Linked DNA regions of Homo sapiens: regions 1 and 2 are each linked to region 3. Evidence: promoter capture Hi-C in 16 types of primary human blood cells and fetal thymus (Javierre and others, 2016). All regions are on one chromosome and are shown on one strand. Each heading gives the region's core, a stretch centred on a gene start or on the middle of the fragment in contact. The rest is flanking DNA. Distances are from core to core; before and after follow the strand shown.

Region 1 (3,542 bases), core at 216-2,715, 540 kb after region 3:
GTGTCCAAGGCTGATTCAAAATGCATGGCCTAGAGATAGATTCCAGGGGATGGGGTTCCTCCTAGTTCTATAGCAGTTAATAAACTTCTCCCTGAATGCAATGGGCCTATAAGCATATTTGTGACCCAGCACCCTTCAAAGGTTCTGTGGAGGTTGTGTCCTTGGTGCAAGAAATCTCAAAATTACTAATTTGAAGATAGGGATCTGCAGATGGGAAGAAGATGAGGGGACTTCCTCCCTCGGATTTAATAGGAAGAACCAACTCTCTGATTTGCTTCAGCAACAGAGCTCCAATGTTGGAAGAGGATTAGTAGGTCAGAACCTTAGCTATTTATCATTGTAGACACTATCACTATTTTAGTGCTGAAGTTCAGGAAGTTCTGCCTTTCTTACCATCCTGAGTGGTCCATGCAGCTCTCTGCTCTCTACAGGCACCTCCTGGGGCCAGACTACACTGAAACATTGTACTCACCCAGAGGAGAGGAAATTACCACGAAACCTGAGAACATGGTAGGGTCCGAATACTTTGTGGGTCTCTTTTGAGTTTTAGATGTTATTAGTTTGTGCTAATGTTAACTAAGATCTCCAAAGGGCTCAATTATTTTATAAAATTCATAGGTCCATGAACAGCTTCAAAAAATAATCAAAGGACTTGAAAGCAAGTTGCTTATCTATGATCAATGAGACAACAGTTTGGAAAATCACATTCAGCTTTTAAAACATAGGAGCAGCAGAAAGCTTCCAAGTGTCACATTTTTGGAAGCAACCAAAAGTCCACTTCTCCCTAGACCATTTTATCCATAGGTTAGAAAAGTTCTTCTCTATACGTACTTAAAACCTCTTGTCACTATTTACTATTTTTTGGAGATACATGCATTTATCCTGAGGTCAGCAATGAAATATCAATAATTAATATTTTTATATCTGATTAAATCATCATCCCGTAGACAATACCAGGGCCAAATGTCAGACATTAAGAATCATGGCATAGAATATCATGAAGAGAATACAATAAATCTCAATCAAGAGATGTTCATGTTCCCAGGCTAAGACAGCTTCTCAGAGCCATCCTACAAGGTACCCTAAACCTGCATTTCTCTATATAAAAAAAAAGACTTCTGCCACAGAATGGTTCTTTGTTCCCCATGCTCATTAAAACTTATTTCATGAACATCTGAATTTTTGCTAACACTATCTTCAGCGGACAGTGTCTGATAAATTAATTTATGCTCAATTGTTAATAGCTGATGATACATTAATGAGGAATCTTCTCAAGTCTTCTATGAGAAAATGTTTATGTTGACGATATCTCTTCCAAAAAGGGAGAAAAGACCATAGATGGAATTTCATAACCTGAGGCAGGTCAATTTATTTTGCACTGGAGTTTTTTCACTACCTTTTTTAGATCACTCCACGTAAGTGGCCCCTTAACTTTGCTGATGTGGGCCAACAATCATGTCTGAATCTCTAATTGTAGACAAATAATTTTGTGTCTTTGAGGCTGATAAAGGGATTCCACTAACAGACCAATTAAAACAGTGATTAAATCAGTTAGTCTGAGGAGCTCAGGAGTGATAGTGTGAAATATCTGGGATTCCCCAGTCTAGAAAAATAGATGTCTCATTTTACTTATTTGTAATGCACAGTGCCTTTGGCACTCAGCACAGTGAAGCCAAATTCTTGAGCACTGACCCCCAAACCTGAGGACCCACTGGGAGTACTGTACATCCCAAGAGGACTGGCTACTTCTCAGAGAAAGCATCCACTTTCACTATGAGCCCACCTAGGTTTAACTTCCCTGGACTCCTCCTTAGTGTAAATTAATGTCAGAAAAACAGTTCAGCCACCAAATATAGAGAGTTTCCAGTGAAGCAATTCTGAAAACCTCTGAGGTTCTTGCTGTTTGTGTTTCTGAGGATTGGTCTGGCCACAGTCACTACTTGAAGAATTTTTACATATTCAAGATGGTAGCTTTCCTCACAACTGTGATACATGTATTCTCATAGTTTATACATTACACACACACTCACATACACACACACACACACATTTCTGAAGCATAATTTCTTTTTTCCACTCCAGGAACACTGTTACTATAAAGGAAACATCCTAAATGAAAAGAATTCTGTTGCCAGCATCAGTACTTGTGACGGGTTGAGGTAAGAACTACCATCAAAATTACTCAAGATCAAGAAGCTTTTTGTTACACAGAATTAAGGGCTACTAGATATTGTCTTCTTACTATTTTGGTAAATTTTTCATTGCTGAAATGCTGAATATATGTGGTTAAAGTGAAGAACAAAGTATTACCCTGACAATCATTTCATAATCTGCTGCTCTAGGAGAAGTCAGGCCTAGCAATGTAAAACAAGAATGCTACACTCTGGACCTTGATGATATCTGGATCCACTTCTGTGTTTATCCAACCTACTCTCTGAAACAGTTACTTCCTGTTTTCTAAAACATTCTTCCCTGCAATGGTCACAGTTGAACTTAATTTTAGAATTATATGTGTTTCTGTTTACGTAGATAATTATTGCCAATGAGAGAAAGTTTGGAAAGTAAGAAAAAGCACAAATAAGAAAATAACAGGCCGGGTGCGGTGGCTCACGCCTGTAATCCCAGCACTTTGGGAGGGCGAGGCGGGCAGATCAGGAGGTCAGAAGATTGAGACCATCCTGGCTAACACGGTGAAACCCCATCTCTACTAAAAATACAAAAAAAAATAGCCGAGTGTGGTGGCTGGCGCCTGTAGTCCCAGCTACTCCGGAGGCTGAGGCAGGAGAATGGCATGAACCCAGGAGGCGGAGCTTGCAATGAGCCAAGATAGCTCCACTGCACTCTAGCTTGGGCGACAGAGCGAGACTCCGTCTCAAAACAAAAAAAAAGAAAAAGAAGGTAACAACTACCACAAAAGTTGACCTCTGAGTAATCACTGTTATTAACATTTTGTCATGTTTGCACCCTTATGTGCACATATAGACAAATGTATCTTTCACAGCATTGAAATAAAAAAAAAACCACATTGTTCTTCCAACATGGCTGATAACACACACGACAAGTTCTTCACATATCATAAAATACCTTCAGGGATATAATTTTGAACAGTTAAGTTGGATTGTAATATTTTATTATATGGATTCACCTTCTATTTATGAACTAATTATCATACTATTGTGATTATAGAAAGAGGGATTCTTTAAGCTACTTCTAATCCCAACGTGTTACTCTGGTTGGCCTGCTGATCATTCATGTTCCCCTCTGGGGTTCTTGCTATCTAAACATTCCCTTACTCCATTTTCCATTATAGTCCTAGGATCTGCCATGAAATATTTGTTAAATGAATCAATAAACTATGGAAAAATATTTACCACGGTGCAAATTCCAAATTCTTTGGGGTTGCTTCATCTTTATAATTCTTGTTCAGAATTCTCTTGGTAAATAAGTTAGGCTTCATTTTATATCGACAAATAGTGATTCTAACTTACATTACCAGAAGTTAGCTGAAAGGTCTATGAATGACAAGGCTATGTGTGAAATTG
Region 2 (3,402 bases), core at 155-2,654, 590 kb after region 3:
CCAGGAGGCAGAGGTTGCAGTGAGCCAAGATCATGCCACTGTGCTCCAGCCTGGGCAACAGAGCAAGACTCTCTCAAAAAATAAAAATAAAATAAAATAAAATAAAATAAAATAAAATAAAAATATCATTATGAATATACCAGATAAGCTTGGATAAGGGCAAGGAATATAAACAATGAACCTAAAGCTTCTTGTATACCAGAATATGCTCAAACAGACAAAACAAAATTCAAACCACATTGAAGGGGTCTTGTCAAAAGAATTCAGAAGCCAACAGAAAGAGCTCCCGATGGCCAAAGCTGGGATAATGTGAAGAACAAAATAAATAACAGCTTTGTATTATGACATGAAGTGTAAATAAATATCATGAGCCCATACTGATATAAATAAATGACTGAATAAATAATATATAATAAATAAATAAATAAATTAAATAAATAAATTGAAAAAATGGACACTTCTTCTGGGAGAGGAATCAAATAATTTATGTAGATGCTGTCCTCTCCAGGGGGTGGAACCTAAATCCCCACCCATTAAGTGTGGGTTGTAGATTGTGACTTCCTTCCAGGAAGTACCATACTGAAGGGGGGAAAGAGTCATTTTACAGAGAGAAAGATGAAAACACCACCTCAGCCACGTGATCAGGTTTAACACTTGCTAAGTCCTGTGGCTAGTAGGGTGTAATAAAATGGCATTTTCTATTATGGCTCTCACCTCAAAATCTGTAACATCAGTCTAAGCATGAGAAAAATATCAGAACAAAAACAAATTGTAAGACGCCCTACAAAATGCTTGACAGATACTCCCCATAAAGGTCCAGATCGTAAAAAAAAAAACACAAAAAAACGAAAAAACCTGAGAAACTGTGAGACTTCAGGAGGCTAAGGAGACCTGACAACTAAACGTAGTGTGGAATCTGGGATCAGATCCTGAAAGAGTTAAAGCACATCAGGGAAAAACTAAGAAGACCTGAATAACTATAATTAATAGTAGTTTATGAATCTGGGCTTATTCGTTGTGACAAATAGACTATAGTAATGTCAGATGCTAATAAACAGGGAAACCTGAGTGCAGAGTATATGGAAACTCTGTACTATCTTTCCAACTTTTCTGTAAATCTAAAATGATTCCAAAATAAAAATTAAAAACCAAATTGTTATTAAAAACAGTATTAATGACACAATTTAAAATATCCTATTAACAATATTGACAATATTAAAAATCTTCTAATATTTGTTAATATAAAATCCATATCTGAATTTCCAAAAAAGTTCCATTGCCACCATTACACCCATACATGCATGTACACATACATGCAGACACACACACATACACACCTCTACACATACAACTCATCATGTTGCAAAATGTGACCAAACCCTTTCTATCTGATTAAGTACCCACCCTAGTTTCTTGGCCTCCCACGTGGGGATTCTGTGTCTTTATGATAAAGCTGTAATTTTATTGTTCAACTTGCAGTCAAAACAACCTTAACTAATGCACACTTAACATTGAATAAACACAAAACTCTCCTTCCCAACCTCATAGCTGACCCTCTTCAGATCCTCCTTGCTATAGTAGCACAGCTCTACAAGTTAAACAAATCAGAAATCTGGGCTTAGTCTTGACTACTCTCTCTTACTCCATCTGACTATCACTGAGGCTTGTAGATTCTAGCATGTAAATGTCTTTTAAAGTTATCTACTGCTTACTCCTCTGCTCAAATCATCTGCATTCATCAACAGCCTTAAATGGTTTTCCTGGCTATAGTACTGAGTTTTGCTAATCCATTATCTACAAGAAGTAAAGTACTAAAACACCATGCTTGCTATGGCATGTTTCTGCCTAGATATTTTGCTTCTCTTTGTTCATAGGATAAGGCCCAAATCTTTGACTTACTAGGTTGAACATGATTTACTCCTTCCCACTTTGTCATTTCATTTCTATTCAACTTACACCTGATTTTCCAGTAATATTGAACCTCTGTCTGTTCTTCAAATGTGTCATGTTCCTTCCTGGCTCAGAGCCTTGGCATGTGCTGTTCCCTGCCCCTGACTTCTCCTTGTAATATCCCTGGCACAGTCCTTGCATTTCTCCTATTATGATGCTCATTACACTCCACTATGTGTGCTTGGTTATCCAGTGTTTTTCTCTGCCAAGCAGGGACTTCCATGAGGGCAGAGACCTCCACCGTCTACACCATTGTATTTTCCATATTATCTCTGTGCCTGAAATAGTAGTCATTGAATAAATGAATGAACAGTCATCTCAAAGTAATGTGCAACATGTATGACCAACAACTGTGAATCTTAAATTATAGAGAATTTTTAAGAAGCATGAAGAAATAAAATACCACAAAAGAAACTGGTGAAAGGGCATGAATCAGAATCCATATGAAAACTACAAATAACTAAATAAATAAAGGAAAAATATTGATGTGAATGATCATCCAGGAAAACAATTTATCACAATAAGTCATCATTTCATTGTTTAAAATATTTGTATTAATCATAATATCTATTATTGGTAAGAAGGCAAGGAAACAGAAACTGCTATAAATTGATGGTGAGGTTCTAAACATGACCACTTCCTTTCTTCATGATAGTTTGGCAATAGTTATAAAAGCTTTACATTTTTTTTCATGTCATTGAAAATGCAGCTCTGTCCAACGACAGGGAATACCCCAAACCAAATTTCTCATAGTAAATATAGATTAAATAAATGAAGTTTCACTCACATTGTGCTTAGCTGCCTAAAGACACATACTATAAAAAATTTATTAAAATAGGAAATAGTCATGATTTATCATTGAGTGCAAAGTAGACGAAAAAACAGTATGTATAAAAATCGCTTTAAAAATGCGTGAACAGGATATCTGTGTATAGAGCTGCTACATGGACATATGGTAAATGGTGTATCCTTGGATGAGGAGAGAATCTGCATTTTCCATTTAATTGTATAACTAGAAACTATATATAATATGCTATATTATATTATATTAAACTATATTATAACATGCTATGTTATAATATAAATAGTTGTAATATAACTAATAATATAAACTATAATATAAAAGAATAACTATATTTATATTTTATTCTAATATAACTAGAAGAAATCTAGTTCTAAAATATAACTAGAATGAGGTTTGTAAAATCTTCCTTCTAATATTAGCTCTCTTTCAATTCATCTTTATCAGTATTTTGCATTTTGGCTGAAAGGACTGCTGGGTGGATTGGAGATAGGGAACATTCACCCAAAGCACTACTTGCTCCAGAACACACTAAATGAGCCCATGTTGAAGTCACGTGATGCCTCTTCTTTTTTAGAAAACGTATGAAGAAGAATTGTTGTATGAAATAAAACTAAATAGAAAAACCTTAGTCCTTCATCTTCTAAGAT
Region 3 (3,358 bases), core at 647-3,146:
TCAGGCTTTTAACTTACCGTCATATTGGCAAAAAGAAATCTGATCCGTTCATGTTTCACCCCAACCCTCCACTAGGACAGTGCTTAGAGGTATGCATAATCTCTTTCATATTAAAAGCCTTTTAAAAAAGAAAGAAAGAAAGAAAGAAAGAAAGAAGAAACACAGGTGTGGAATAACCAGGCCAAGGCCTCCCTATGCAAGACTGGAAGAAAACCGCAAAAAACTTGCATGAGGCTTTCTACATTCTGGATAAGATCTCCCATAAAAGTAATTTTTCTCCCACAGAAGGGGGGTGTTCTGGCAGGCAGCTAGGCAAGGAATGATCTGCAGCCTTCATGCCATAGGATTCTCCTCTGAGATCAAAAGCATGGTTCAGTTAGTCTTCCCCACCCCCTCCCACCACCCGCAGCCTCTAGGATGTTACAAGTCATTTCCCTAATTATATATTTCCACGGGTTTAAATTATAACTTTGCTTTAAGCAGTTTTAATATGCATTAGGGCTGCTATTGTTTTAGGCAAGCTCGAATTGTGAATCACTGCATCTCTATAGCAACTAAGTACAAAAGGAAGTGAAGCAAAAGCCCTCCTCTCGGCAGGGACCTGTGCTCTTCCAAGGGGATCATCATCTGCAGCATTTTGACACCTGTGATCCGGTCTTTGCTGACAGTTGGAGGACAGAGGGCAGTATTGGAAGGGGAACAAGTGGAGCCAGAGAAGTCAAGAGGCAGAGGTGTCAATGCAGGCTTCCTAATGATTCTTTTCCTTCAGAAGCCAAGATAATGCACAATTAACTGCTCCAAGAGTCAAGACGAAAGTGAGACCTTACCCTTGGAGAAACAGCTGCTACGTTTCACAATTTTTTTTTTCTAGGGGCTCTCTGGCTACGGGCTGCAGGGACGACTGAATGGAGCCCTACAGAGCCAGGAGGGAGACAGGCAGCAGGGTTGGGGGTGGGATGTATAGGGTTTTCTCTGAATCCGCCCTGGATTTGTCAGACTTGAGGGCTATGGTTCTGAAAATCAGTCTGAAGAGGGAGCTTTTCTGTGTATTCTCTTAGGTAGAGAAGTCAAGAAGTGAAGAGGTAGAGTCTTAAGAGGAAAGGAAGAGGGACAGCATCAAACAAGCCAGGTCTTACCTTAGATCAGCTTCTGGAAAGTATAGAGAGCGCTTTGAAGCATGCCAACATTCAAGCCTTTCCTCCCCTCTCACCCCTCCCCCTCCAAGAGGGTACGTGCCAGATTTCAGGCAATCAGGCTAGGCTTATGCAATGAAATACCCTCAGCAGAGCGTCCAGCTTCTTCGTTTAGTTGCATGCAATTTATTAAACAAAGGAGCTCCACTGCCTAAGGCTATTGGATTACACTGGCAGTTTATTGCCATCAGGCATGAAGCACATTTATTATCAAGATCAGCCGTCACAGACACAGTTGCAAAAGGGAGAGGCAAATGAGGACAGCTCTTTGGGGGAGAAACCGCTCTTGGGTTTGCTGCTTACCTGAGTTTTGAGCCGCCACTCGGGATTTCCTGGGGCTCACAGAGTCATTCTGCTCCGCCTCATGGGTTGCAGAAGCACTGATCACCAGCACCAGAAGCACTGCTGAGTTTTGGAGCATTCTCTGAGAAGTTTCCGCTAAGTTGTTGGGTTTTTTTTTTTTCCTGCCCCCCTTTCCTCTTTCCCTCTCCTGGCTTGAGTGAAGATGTGGATCTGGATACACTGAAAGCTTAGGTGAGGATTTGATGAGGATTTTTTTTTGTTGTTGTTGCTGGTGATGCTGCTGCTGCCACCGGTGCCTCCGCTGCTGCTGCTGCTGCCGCCGCTGCTGCTGCTGCTGCCACCGCCGCTGCTGCTGCTGCTGCTGCAGTCGCTGCTTCTTGCACCTCTGGCTTTTGCAAACTGGGGGCCCAAGAGCTGCACCCAGGGATTTTATAGCCGTTCTTATCGGTCCTCAGGATCAAGGACCAATCAGGTCCCTCAACTGGTCTGGTGAGCCAATAAGAGGGCATGCAATTCAGCTGGAGCTTTTTGACTTCTTAGAAATATTTTCCAGCAAATTAAAAGTACCTGCTGCCAATGTTTTATATGTGTGTGTGACTGTGTGTGCAGAGATGTGTGAAAAAGCTATTTTCGTGGAAGTAAGAGATAACTCTGTATTGATTGAACTAAAGAAAAATCCTATAGAAATCTCTCCAAGTTGCTTTTTGAAATCTAGCCATCTTTTTTTCTAATGAGCCACTTGGGGGAAATGGATAGCAGGGGTATGGTGGGGAAATGTGATCTCTTTAGATGAGAACTTAACCTGCTTACAGCAGTTTTACTCTAATTTTAACAGCACATTCTCGGTTCTGTTTTGTAGGCTACAAATGCAATAACTCCCTATCTTCTCTGTGTGTACATGTTCACATGTCTATGATGCATTTTTGTTTGTATGTGGACATCCTGGGTTCTCACTCACACATTTGAGCCCTTGAGGGGGAATTTATGTGAGTGGAAAAGCCTTGGGGGACTGAGATATGACAGCTCAGAGCTGAAGCCTTAGTCCCCCTACTGATCAACCTATGACTCTGGCTAAGTCTTTTTACCTTGCCCCACCTCGTTTTCCCATCTGTAAAACGCCAAAGTTGGACTCTGACATTCTGTATACCTCTAAAATAATGTGATTCTTCAATAATCAAATCAACTTTGACTTCATCTTTTCAGTCACCAGCAAAATTGCATAGTCCAGGAGTGTTAGTTACCCCAGGTACACATGTGCACACCTGCACATACCACACTCAACAGGGAGACATCATGAATGCCTGAAAATTAATAATCTGTGTTCAAGCCCAGCAACTTTATAACCACTTTGAAACAATAAGCTGGCCAAAGCAAGACTAAACCTGCTGAATGGAAACCAGTTCATTTCTTGGGGAGAGGGGTAGGAAAAAAGGGGGCAGAATGGAAAGAAGGGGTAGAGAAAGACCAGAATGTGTAGGAGAGAAGAATGATAAGCTCTAGACTTAATAGGAAAATTGCACTGCAATCACAAATCATGCCTGGTATAGAAACTTATATTTTCTTATAAGTGAGTTGTAGGCAATGCTGAGGTTTGTCCCCAACATGTGAAGGAGGTTAATGAGCCAGAAGAGGACTTCTTAGGGTAGGAAGGTGGTGAAGGTATTATACAATAAAACCTTTAATAATTTTGGGGAAGTAGATGAGAAATGGCCACTGGTGATTCATACAGATTTGGGCAGGATAATCTTGCAGAGAAATGGGGCCAGTGGCTTTACTTTGCATCCTAAAACCTTCAAACAAAAGTTGAAGAAAGAGTGCCACCCCTGTTAACCACAAACTAAACCAAGTGTCAGCTCTGTGTA

What was found. The method cuts DNA at HindIII sites, captures the fragments that hold promoters and counts their contacts. A CHiCAGO score of 5 or more calls a contact.
Region 1: a contact is called between a fragment that was not itself captured here and the fragment with the promoter of STC1 in region 3, in 3 of 17 cell types (naive B cells, total B cells and endothelial precursors). The highest score is 9.0, in naive B cells.
Region 2: a contact is called between a fragment that was not itself captured here and the fragment with the promoter of STC1 in region 3, in 4 of 17 cell types (total B cells, naive B cells, M2 macrophages and 1 more). The highest score is 8.7, in total B cells.

The regions. Positions count from the first base shown.
Region 1 is chr8:24,393,638-24,397,179 of GRCh38, forward strand. ADAMDEC1 (ADAM like decysin 1) reads left to right here. Exons shown (of 14, transcript NM_014479.3): 4 at 432-510; 5 at 2,083-2,159. All of the region lies in intron 1 of ADAM7-AS1 (ADAM7, ADAMDEC1 and ADAM28 antisense RNA 1), which reads right to left. Among named protein-coding and RNA genes, the nearest start is that of ADAMDEC1, 11 kb to the left of the region's middle. The HindIII fragment of the contact is 1,458 bases long and covers 737-2,194 here.
Region 2 is chr8:24,443,857-24,447,258 of GRCh38, forward strand. It overlaps ADAM7 (ADAM metallopeptidase domain 7), which reads left to right. Exons shown (of 22, transcript NM_003817.4): 3 at 3,330-3,402. All of the region lies in intron 1 of ADAM7-AS1 (ADAM7, ADAMDEC1 and ADAM28 antisense RNA 1), which reads right to left. Among named protein-coding and RNA genes, the nearest start is that of ADAM7, 4.5 kb to the left of the region's middle. The HindIII fragment of the contact is 2,438 bases long and covers 186-2,623 here.
Region 3 is chr8:23,852,910-23,856,267 of GRCh38, forward strand. STC1 (stanniocalcin 1) reads right to left here and starts at 1,897. Exons shown (of 4, transcript NM_003155.3): 1 at 1,497-1,897. The coding sequence starts at 1,614. The HindIII fragment of the contact is 2,191 bases long and covers 1,721-3,358 here.